Regions from separate parts of the Homo sapiens genome. Here region 1 is linked to region 2. Evidence: promoter capture Hi-C in 16 types of primary human blood cells and fetal thymus (Javierre and others, 2016). All regions are on one chromosome and are shown on one strand. The core of a region is centred on a gene start or on the middle of the fragment in contact, and the rest is flanking DNA. Distances in the headings are between cores, read along the strand shown.

What was found. Contacts are between HindIII fragments. The CHiCAGO score rates a contact against its expected background, and 5 or more counts as called.
Region 1: a fragment that was not itself captured here is called in contact with the fragment with the promoter of SMIM15 in region 2 in 2 of 17 cell types (neutrophils and M2 macrophages); the score reaches 5.4 in neutrophils.

What each region holds. Positions count from the first base shown.
Region 1 is chr5:61,268,374-61,274,179 of GRCh38, reverse strand. No RefSeq gene overlaps it. Among named protein-coding and RNA genes, the nearest start is that of LINC02057, 6.3 kb to the right of the region's middle. The HindIII fragment of the contact is 5,737 bases long and covers 1-4,472 here.
Region 2 is chr5:61,160,944-61,166,930 of GRCh38, reverse strand. SMIM15 (small integral membrane protein 15) reads left to right here and starts at 4,463. Exons shown (of 3, transcript NM_001048249.4): 1 at 4,463-4,714; 2 at 5,704-5,843. It overlaps SMIM15-AS1 (SMIM15 antisense RNA 1), which reads right to left and starts at 4,615. Exons shown (of 4, transcript NR_109908.1): 1 at 4,405-4,615. RefSeq lists enhancers at 3,775-3,834, 3,875-3,974, 4,505-4,764, 4,835-4,914, 4,400-5,296 and a silencer at 4,215-4,324. The HindIII fragment of the contact is 8,836 bases long and covers 1-5,987 here.

The sequences.
Region 1 (5,806 bases), core at 355-2,854, 110 kb before region 2:
CCTTTTTTTTTTTTTTTCTAATACAGGTTCTATCTCTGCTGCCTAGGCTGGAGTATAGTGGCACAATCTGGGTTCATTGCAACCTCCACCTCCCAGGCTCAAGTGATCCTCCCACCTCAGCCTCCCAAGTAGCTGGGACTTCAGGTGCAGACCATCATGCTTGGCTAACTTTTTGCATTCTTTGTAGACACAGGTTTTCTCCATGTTCCCCAGACTGGTTTTGAATTCCTGAGCTCAAGTGATCTGCCCACCTCAGCCTCCCAAAGCGCTGGGGATTACAGGTGTGAGCCATAGCACCCAGCCATAAGCTCCATTTTAAACTTAATCTTGTGGAAGAATCAGAACTAAAGAAGCAATTCATTACAGGGCAATGATAGTTATGAAAGAGGAAGCACAAGATGCTATGGGAGAAACATCTAACCCAGGGTGAAGCTCATCAAACCAGGGTTTCTGGAGGAAGACAGATGAAAGCTGAGACATGAAAAATGAAGAAAACCTATCCAGGAGAAGAGAAAAGAAAAGAGCTTTCTAGGCAGAAGGATCATTGCATTCTGAGATTCAGAGTATGGAAGAATATAGAGTATTTAAAGAATGAAAGCAGTAAGGCTGGATCTTAGAATGCAAAAGATGGTTGGTGAATAAGATGAGGTCATGCAGGGTCTTGTAACCATGTTAAGGAACTTGGGATTTATCCTGAGGGTAGAGGAAGCCATTGAAAGGGTCAAAGCAAAGAGTGTAGAGAATTGATGGGGGAGGGGAAGGCTGGAGGCAGAGAGATCAGCTGTTGTAAAGACACAGAGAAACTGGTGGCAAGGACTAGGATAGTAGCTGAGAAGGCAGATTCAAATGACAATTGGAAGGCTGGCTATAGAGAGCAGGGGAAGGGGAAGATGAGAGAAAGACTCCCAACTCTTTGGCTTGGATGACAACACCATTCACTGAAAGAGAGAACACAGGTGCTGAGGCTGATGTGTCTATGGGGCGTCTAAAGCAGATGACCAGTGTAGAGTGAGTTAGTTGATGAATCTGCACTAAAAATATAGATGTGGTAACTGAAGCTAGTTAAAGGAGTGGAAGAGAGTGTTCAAGAAGAGGTGTCCAGTGATTTTATAATAGTAATATGCAGGTCACATGTGATTTTGGAGATGTAAGATGGGTGGGGATGGAGTCAGAAGCCAGACTGCAGAATGAGCAAAGGAAGAGGAGCAAATAATAGGCAATGTAGACAACTCTTTCGAGAAGATTAACCACAAAAGGGACTAAAGAGTCCAGGAGCAGCAGCGACAGGTGGTTTAGGAACTGGGAGACTGGTGAATTTGAATATCAATGAAAAAATCCAGAATAAAGAGAGGGGCTGAGGGTTCACCAAAGAGGGACAAAGTCCTGCTATGGATGGCATCCAGGGACTGGGAGAAGAAAATAAAGTGGAAAGGATGGATGTGGTGCAGTTAGAGTACAGTCTTGGCTGTGCACTGAGTTGAAGATGTTCTCACTGATGTTTTCATTTTCTATGTCAATGCAAAGCAAGATAATCTGTCAGGAATGAGAGGGAGAGGCCAGGTTCAGTGGCTTCTGCCTATAATCCCAGCACTTTTGGAGGCTGAGACGGGTGGATCTCTTGAGCTCAGGAGTTCAAGACCAGCCTGGGCATGTGGTGAAACCCCATCTCTGGTGGTACATGCCTGTAGTCTCAGCTACTCATGAGGCTGAGGCAAGAGGATTGTTTGAGACCAGGATATCAAGGCTGCAGTAAACAGTGATCACACATCACTGCTCTCCAGCCTGGGCAACAGAGGGAGAACTTGTCTCAAAAAAAAAAAAAAAAAAAAGAATGAAGGGGAGGCCAGGTGCAGTGGCTCACGCCTGTAATCTCAGCACTGTAGGAGGCTGAAGCTGGAGGATTGCTTGAGACCAGGAGTTTGAGACCAAATTGGACTAAATAGTGAGACCTCGACTCCATGAAAAATTTAAAAAATTATCTGGGCATGGTGGCACACATCTGAAGTCCTAGCTACTCTGGAGTTTGAGGTGGGAGGATTGCTTAAGCCCAGGAGGTCAAGGCTGCAGTGAGCTACAATCATGTCCCTGCACTCTAGCCTGGGTGATAGAGTAAGATGACCCTGTCTCCAAAAAAAAAAAAAAAAAAAAAAAAAGAGAGAGAAGAAAAGAGACTAAGGGAGAAGTTTGTAGGACAGGATAGAGGGATAGAAGAGAATGGAGAAAGTTTTCTTTAAAAAAAAAGTAGTATATTTTTAATTAAAATAGAAATACATACCTATGGTTTAAAAAAAATCCAGAAGAGTATAGTGAAATGTAAGTCTGTGCTCCACCCTAGCGGCCCAGCCCTCCAGCCCTCTCTCTGGAGGCAACCACCATGGCCTGTTGGTTCTTGTATCTTCTTTCAGAGATATTTTATGCCCTGCTCTGACCCACTCCTTTTCACTTAATATCATGTCTTGGAGATAGTGCCACATGAGCACAAATAAATCTACTCCATTATGAACCATGCTTTCTTTAACTGGTTCTTTGTGCATACTTTTGGGCTCACAGGTAAGAGTGTATACATAGGAAAAATATGTAGCCTTGAAATTTCCCTCTGAAGAGACTGTAGCTATTTACATTGTGTTATGCTCCTCCTGATCATAAACAATGCAAAGTATTAGTAAATATCTTTTTTATTTTACTCAGCCTGACAAGTAGAAAATGAAATCTTATTTTGCTTTGGGTTTTTTAAATTGAGAGGAAGAGAATTTTAAAAATATTTACTGGCCAATTTTGTCTCCTTGTGTGTGTGTGTGTGTGTGTGTGTGTGTGTGTGTGTGTGTGAACTGCCTGCTCATGTCCCGGCCCGTTTTTCTTTTGGGTCATTGGTCTTTTTCCTATTGATTTTTAAAAATGGAGAAGATTGAAGTGGATAAGAGGAAAAGGTTGAAGAGTGCTGGGCCTCCAGGGCACCCACCAGGGTCCCCCATTTCTGCAGAGGAGCTGCAGACAGAGCCCTGTAGGTTCTTTTTGAATTGAACATCTCTTAGTTGAACTGATGTCTGCAGCCTTGGCCTGTGATTTCTTTCTCCAAGAGGTTTACAGCTCCATGAGGCCTGCAAGGCAGAAGGGGAAGGAAGGAAATCCCCATTCTCGGAGTCTGCATTGTTGGCCTGTGAGACGGTGGGGAGAAGCCTGTGGAGGAGCAGGTATCTGGATAGAAACAGTCCCTGGCAGTGGGTGAAGCTCCCTGAAGCTCTGAGTCAGCTCAGACCTCAACACCTGGCTGCCCTGGGGAAGGGATTTCAGAGCCTCCTTGCTGGATCTTGGTGTTTACTTGTGGGCACAAGTGTCCTCTACTTGATCTACATGGTGTGGCCTTCCAGACCTCGAGTGGACCAGCCCATCTCTGGTCTACTCTATTTGGTCATTCTGGATGCAGTTCTTGATGCCTACCTGCCCCAAGCTGGGCACCTTCTCACACGGACTGTCACCACTGGGATCGCCCCCTGCCAGCCACTCTCCTGGTCCGCACCTAACCCTGGGCCAAAGGGCCAGAGGGCCGGAGGGTGAGGAAGCAGGGTGGGGCTGCAGCATCCTTGTTCTCAGCAGGTAACTGGCTCCCACCTGTGGCATTTCCCACAGTTCCACAGAGAAGGTTCAGGGCCTGGAAGCCATGTTATACCCTAAACTCCTCAATAGGAAGCCAAGAAAGTACCTTATCTCAGGGCAGAACTTGGAGCTTCTGTTACATATGAAATGTCAAAGAGATGTGAGCTGTTTTGTAAATGATCTTATCACAACATACAAATCATACAGTTAAAAATGACCTAAGAAGTGAAAGGACAGAAACACATTTCAAGCATTTATTAGCACAGGAGACATGCCAGGTGCACGTGACATTTGGCCCTTACCATACCTGATAAGTAGTGACCATTATTATCCCCACTTTGCAGATGACAAAAGGGAGGCTTGGGTCATTTAAGTAACTTTCTTTAAATTACAGGGCTAGAAAGTGGCAAGGCAGGCATTGGAACCTAGCACTGTCTAAGGCTATCACTCTATGCATCCATGTACCCACTGCATGAATGTAGCTGTGGCTAAAGAAGATCTTACAGACTCAGCAAGTAGCTTCATGTTTCTTGATACTTTGAAGATTCGTCTTTTCCTGAAAAAGAGGCCTGTCTAGGAGTTCTAGACAAAAACAGACCCACCTTGCCTTATTAAGCAGGGCCCTTACCTTAGACCAGCTGAGCGACTCTTTTGTCTATGGAGTTTCCATGGGTGGGTGATGGCTTAAACTACAGAAATCATTATTGAAGGAGGCATTAACATTACCACTCCTGATACTCAAATGCATTGGTCCATCTAGCATTTTCCAACTAAACTTTCATAACCACTGCTTTTAGATTCCACTGGCTTAATTTTTTTTAAATTTCTTGTCCCCACCTCCTACCCAACTCCTTCATTTTTGAGTGGAGGCTTAAGCTTGGAATCTGGCATCCGTGGAGGTTTGACATTGACAGGTACTGGGGTACAGACCCAAAACTAAAGTTCAGAGAGGCAGATTATTTTATTTTTCAGCTGCCTTGATGGCTGAAGGTGGTAAACATATCACTATGTCACAGCTGAAAAGGAAATTGAACACAAAGAGAAAAATGACACACCCAATAACCCACTATTTACAACATTCAAACATTCAAAAACCATGGACTGTGGCAAGTTTTTTTTTAACCTTGTTTTTTTCATAAAGATTAATAAGAGGTCTAACTGAATTCTTTCTTTCTTTCTTTCTTTTCTCTTTCTTTCTTTTCTTTCTTCTTTCTCTTTTTCTTTCTTCTTTCTTTCTTTCTCTCCTTCTTTCTTTCTTTCTCTTTCTCTCTCTCTCTCTCTGTCTCTCTCTCTCTCTCTGTCTCTCCCTCCCTTCCTTCCTTCTTTCTATTTTAACTTGTATTGTTTAGGTAGATGCTGACATTAAAGTACTATCTTTCTTTACAACATAAACTATTTCCTGAGACATTTATAGAGTGAACCACGTGGAAATGAGAATATACTTCTACTGATAAAAATTACTGTAGTCTATTAACTTCTCCAAAACATCAGCAATTTTGTAAAATTGTTTCATATCTATTTTCCTCTTTGTCTCTAGAAACCAACTTTTAGAGAAGTCTTTCAAAATTTCTCAAGCTACAATGTAGTAGATGGTTTCTAAAATGCTAAAAATACCAAAATAGTACCCTGAATTTCAATGCCGTCTCCTCCACTGTAAGTTCCTAAGCCAATATTGTGACTGTCTTGGAGGGGGCCTGGAGAGTGAGAATGAATGAAGAATGAAGCTTTTCTTTCACAGACAGTGGAACTGACCCCAATCATAATTTTCAGTTCCTAATAAGGAAAATTGCAGCCAATTAAAATGGCCCCAAATTAATTATTGTTGAAGCTAGCTTTTTTGTGTGTGTGTAGTTGGAAACTAAAAGGGTGGTACTAATTTACAAATAACAAGACATAGAGGAAGCTAAAAGAAGCCTAACCTTCCAGGTTGGCACTGAGGGGCAGGACTCAGCCACCCCCTTCTTTAAACAAGACAACAGTGGCTGCCTGTGTGGGTTCCTATGTTTGAGGAGTATGCTTCCTAAAGTCCACTATTGCTCTTTTGTTTTCTTAAGGGGAGCAGATGTATTGGCGCTAACCAGAAAGGAAAAAGGGAGAAAGGAAAATACACTTCTGAGTTAGAGAAAATTTGTGACTTAATATCTCAATGAATGTGAATTAAATTTCATTGGCAACTGCACCCATAGTCATAGTAACTGAAAAAGGAGGAAAA
Region 2 (5,987 bases), core at 3,214-5,713:
GGAGTTTCGCTCTTGTTGCCTAGGCAGGAGTGCAATGGCATGATCTCTGTTTGCTGCAACCTCCACCTCCTGGGTTCAAACAATTCTCCTGCCTCAGCCTGCCAAGTAGCTGGGATTACAGGCATGTGCCACCACGCCCAGCTAATTTTTTAATTTTAGTGGAGACGGGTTTCACCAAGTTCATCAGGCTGGTCTCGAACTCCTGACCTCAGGTGATCCACCTGCTTCTGCTTCACAAAGGGCTGGGATTACAGGCATGAGCCAATGTGCCTGGCCACAATAAGTAGCTTTAAAAAAAATTATTCTTCTGTATAAACTTTCAAATATCACTAAAATCTGATTATGCTAAAAAAAAAAAAATCACTGCCTGGGCACAGTGGCTCAGGCCTGTAATCCCAGCACTTTGGGAGGCTGAGGCGGGCAAATCACCCGACATCAGGAGTTTGAGACCAGCCTGTCCAATATGGTAAAAACCCATCCCTACAAAAAATACAAAAATTAGCTGGGCATGATGGTGCACGCCTGTAGTCCCAACTACTCGGGAGGCTGAGGCAGGAGAATCACTTGAACCTGGGAGGTGGAGGCTGCAGTGAGCTGAGATCGCACTACTGCACTCTAGCCTGGGCAAGAGAGCGAGACTCTGCCTCAAAATAAATAAATAAATAAAAATAAATAAATATTACATAAATGTGCCTATTAAGAAATGTTTTGCATTATGTTTCAATGGAAGTAAAAAACCTCACAAAATAAAATTTAGGGAAGAAACCAATTCCATCAAAGTAAGATGCAGGTAAGAGAACTCTCAAAGTCTTTTAGACACACTCAATTGTTATTATTAAACTATATTATTATCTTAATATTATCTGAATCTTATTCTGGTTTCACTACTTACAACTTTGACATGGGTTAGAATGAGATATAATTTTGCACCAATCAAGGGAAAAATACTTTTTAAGAAAAAAAATGGCATGGGACTGCCACAGGACTTCCATTCTCAATAGACAAAAGAATTTTATAAGGCTCTACTTATAAAATATAATTGCAATAGAGTACACTAGTGCTGAAGAGGCTGGTGGTGTGATATACTACACAGGAATTATCTTATGCAAAGGCAGGCCCTATTTCATTAACAGCATCAGGTTTAGTTAGTTTGGCTAAACTTACATGAATAATATTTTATTTCTTAAAAGTAAATAAAGCAGACCTTATTTCCTTGTTATTCTAAATTCGTATTCTGACAGACATTTGAGAGAATAAAAACCTGATTAAGGATCTTTTCAAACAAAGAAATAAGATCTTGTCCTGGAACAGTGGCTCACACCTGTAGTGCCAGCACTTTGAAAGACAAAGGCAGGAGGATCACTTCAGGCAAGGAGTTTGGGACCAGCCTGGGCAACAGAGTGAAACCCTGCCTCTAGAAAAAAATTTTTAAAAATTAGTTGGGCATAGTGGCATGCATCTGTAGTCCCAGCTACTCTAGAGGCTGAGGTGGGAGGATCGCTTGAGCCCAGGCAGTCAAGGCTGCAGTGAGCAGTGATGGACCCACTGCACCCCAGCGTGGGTGACTTAGTGAGACCCTGTCTCAAAAAAAAAAAAAAAAAAAATCACTGAAACTCATTCTCTCTAGTTGGGCTTGACTTAGAACTGAATACATTAAGCAGAAAATTAACACTGGTCATAGGTTTAAAAAATAATGAGTATGCTAAGCTGGGCATGGTGGCTTGTGGCTGTAGTCCCAGCTATTCAGAAGGTGAGGAGTGAGGATCCCTTGAGCCCAGGAGTTCGAAGAGGCAGTGGGCTATGATCGCACCACTGCATTCCAGCTGGGCCAGAGCAAGACCGTGTTTAAAAAAAAAAAAAAAAAAAAAGGCCAGGCGCGGTGGTGGCTCACGCCTGTAATCCCAGCACTTTGGGAGGCCGAGGCGGGTGGATCACGAGGTCAAGAAATCGAGACCATCCTGGCCAAATGGTGAAACCCCATCTATACTAAAAATACAAAAATTAGCTGGGCGTGGTGATGCCCGCCTGTAGTCCCAAGTACTCAGAAGGCTGAGGCAGGAGAATCGCTTGAACCTGGGAGGTGGAGGGTGCAGTGAGCCAAGATCGCAGCACTGCACTCCAGCCCTGGTGACAGAGACTCCGTCTCAAAATTAAAAAAAAAAAAAAAAAAAAAGACCTTAAGAAAACTTGCAATAATGTTTCTATCAAATACCTTACTATGCTATTTATTTAAGAAAAATGACCAAATCCAGTCCAATTTACAGATTTTAAAGCTGAAAGGGCATTGGAGATTGCCTAGTATGCTTTCCACATATCTAAGTGGAAACACACTCAGAGTGATTTATCAGAGTATACATAACATTACTGTACCACAACTGTGAATCTCAGTTCACGAGCTCAGACTTCTCTTTATGGAAAGTAGTTCACAGTATTTGAATCAATCCTGACACCACCTTTAGTTAAGGCAATGCAGACTGCAGTAAGGAGCTCCACTGTGGCAACCCCTATGCTGTTCCTGGTCTTGCAGACTGTCCTGTAACTTGAAGCTAGATGAGCAAACTTAGATTGTAAAGGCATGGTCTAGATCAGCAGTCTCCAACCTTAATGGCATCCAGGACTGGTTTCGTGGAAAACAATTTTTCCATGGACGGGGATGGGGGATGCTTTCAGGATGAAGCTGTTCCACCTCAGATCATCAGGCATTAGATTATCATAAGGAGCGCACAACCTAGATCCCTCGCACATGCAGTTCACATTACGGTTCGCACCATGAGAATCTAATGATGCTGCTGATCTGACAGGAGGCGGAACTTAGACGGAAATGCTCACTCACCCATCGCTCACCTCCTGCTGTGCGGCCCCGTTCCTAACAGGCTGCAAACCAGGTACCAGTCCGTCGTTGGGGACCCCTGGTCTAGATTACAGCTAAAGAACTACAAAGGCTTTCTCTTTATATGCCCTTCCTTCCTGCCCAAGACTTCTGGGCTTTTAACTAGGGATGCAGCACTGCAAGTATCCGGAGGCAGTAACTGGGAAAACCACCTATCATGATTAAAATAAAACACGCATTGGCCTCTGGAACGAAGGATGTTAAAATAATACATTCTGCCCACATCTTGGATTCAAGACTTGGGGAAGTTTTAGAAAAATCAGTTATCTCAAGTAAGTATTCAGTGCACACAATCCAGTGACTGAGTCTACTTTTTCTGGCTACTAAGGTACAGGCTAGGCCTAAGCAGCATAGGCTTTGAAACTATCATCCAGGTTTTCAAATAAAAAGGAGTAAGAAAACAACTGCTGGTAATACAACATTACAAACATTAACATATGCCCAACGAACAGTATCGTAGATCGTTAGATTATCTGCCAAAAGCCTGTTCCCTGGTAAATAACAGTTATTGTTGTTTTACCTAAACTAGTTAAACATGTCGCAGCTTGCTCCTGAAAGAGAACATTCTATAGTCTTTGGAGAATCAGTGAAGAGGTCTTGCAACATTTGTCAGAGGTAGTCAAACAGTGCAAGCAATCACAAAATTTGGTCACCAACCAAACCAGATTAGCTAATCTTTCAGTTCCTGTAGATTAGAAGACAATATTAACTCACCCTTTCTGCATGTTGACTTTTGCATCCCTTTATTTGTGTATTGAAAGAACAAGCACCTCTATGGGAACTCTATGCCCTGACAGTTTAATTACTTATCAAGTTTACTCTGGGCCGGTATTGATCATTCTTTCGTGAAACGAATTAGATACTTAAATTAAAAACAAACAACAAAACCCCCCTTTTCACATAGCATGGCGGCATGTCCCTTGGTAACAAGGTTGAGTGGATCCACCAAGGCCCAGTAGCTTGCCTCCTTTTCGTAAGGATGTAACTATTGTCCAACCAGAAGAGAGAGGCATGGAGTGGGATGTGCACCAGGATGAACTCGCCGGAATCGTCAAGAGTCGTTGTGTGACCCTCACCTTGACTTCGGGCGTTTTGTGGGGACCCAACTGCTTTCTTGCCGCTGCTCTTTGGTCTGAGTTTCCCTCAGCCAAACACTTCACCCACCCATGACCCTCCAACTGTCCCGCTACAGCAGGGGATGGGGGTTGTCTTCCGATCGACCTCGGGGGGCAAAGGCAAAAGTCCCTAGCTGCTTCGGAACCGCTCCTCGAGTCCTGAAGCCGCTCCACGCCTCCTCGCCCACCACTTGGTCCCCGCAGGACGTGGCAGTCTCGGGCTCCAGCCTGGAAAGGAGCCCGCCCGGGTGCCGTCACCCGCCCCGCGCGGCCTCACCTGCCGCTCCCCGGAAATCTCAGCGCTGCCCTGCCCCCGCCCCCACCCTCCCGCGTCCTCCAACTCGAGGTCCCAAGACCCACACAGCAATGGCGCAGCCGGAAACTGGGCCCTAGACTTACTCACGCCCGGCTGGCGGCTCGGGTCGCCTGTGGGCGGGACGCAAAGGCCGCGACTTCCGCCTTCCTGCTTCCGGTCTGGCGGTGAGTGGGGAGTGGGATCCGATCCCGTGGGGCTATGTAGGGGAAGTTGGTGGCTGCAGCTGCCGTGGTTTTCTCCTGGTGTCCAGCAGAAACGGCGGCGGCGCAAGGTGTGGCTGGGCCAACCCAGGATCTCCCAGGACCCTCCGCTCTGCGCGACAAGGGGCCCGCGCTTGCCAAGGCCGACGGGCAGGAGTGAACGTGGCCTCCGTGGGTCTGCAGCCCCGATAGGGTAAGGAGGGAAGAGTGAGCAAGGGAGAAACGTAAGGAATAAGGGAAAGACAAAGGAGGAAGTGCGGACGGCCGTCAAGTGCTACCCGTTGCAGCCGCAGGGGCCACGCGGGTCTGGTTGGGAGATCGAGCCTGGTCGATCCGTTTTGGGCGGAAGAGTAGGATTTATTCCTGAAAGTGTGGAGGCGCGAGCGTTTGGGTCCGAAGTTGAGTTGCAGGGAGATGTGTGGCCTGTGGACCATGGCTCTTTTACTGCAAAGTTCTTTTGCTTATTTCTGAAACTTACATTGTTTATTCGCTACTGGGCTGGAGAAGGTGAAGGCAGATCGATCTCAGTAGTACCTAATTCTAACTGTATGGGTGAGGTCGTATGAAGTCCAGGAGCTAAGATATTTAACGTATTAGGCACTTTCATGTGTGTTCAGTTGAAAATCGTGGGGAAGATATAATTAAAACTAGTCACAGTTTTCTTGGGGTAATGGGACTGTGGGTGAATTACTATAATTTGTTTGGTTATGTCTTCTAATTTTTTAAGTAAAGGACACAAATTGTATGATGGACCCAAAAAAACCTTTATAAAGAGTAAGATGAGCTGTTTGATTTTGTAGTGGTGTACCTAATCCAGTAAATAAATGAGTGGCAACATTTTTAGTATAAAAATTGAAAATCTAGGAACGGATACGCTGTGTAAGTCAGTCAGTGAGCCAACTTGTCTCCCGTATGTCAATGAACTAAAAAAATTTTATTATTGAAATAAGTAACTTAGTAAAATACTTGATTTCCAGTAATTAGGATTTTCTTACAGGGCATTTGCAATTGTAAATTCAAATGAGGAAGAAACGTATTAAGTTACTATACCGGATAGGCAATTTTAGATGTCATATAGGTTGCATATATACAATATAGAAATTTTCCATTTAAAATTTTATTACAATTATCCTGAAATTGTGACTTAAATTTTGTTTTATTTTTTGTATTCTTTCCAACTAGCCAATTGTACAGAATTTAAACCGTCTCTCAGATGTGTACAGTAGAACTCAAGAAGACAGACTACCAAGGGTCATCTGAAGTCGTGATTGGGTCACTAATAACACCAGGACAAAGTTAAGGGATCACTACTCAAGCATAAGGTAGATGATTTTTTTAAAAAAATTCCAGTTGAAATTGTAAGTGGATGTATATACACTCATTCCCTACCCAGGTATTCTAATTCTCCACTTTGAATAGCGGTTGACACAAACATGAAAGGGAGAAAAGCCTCTGGGGCAAAATAG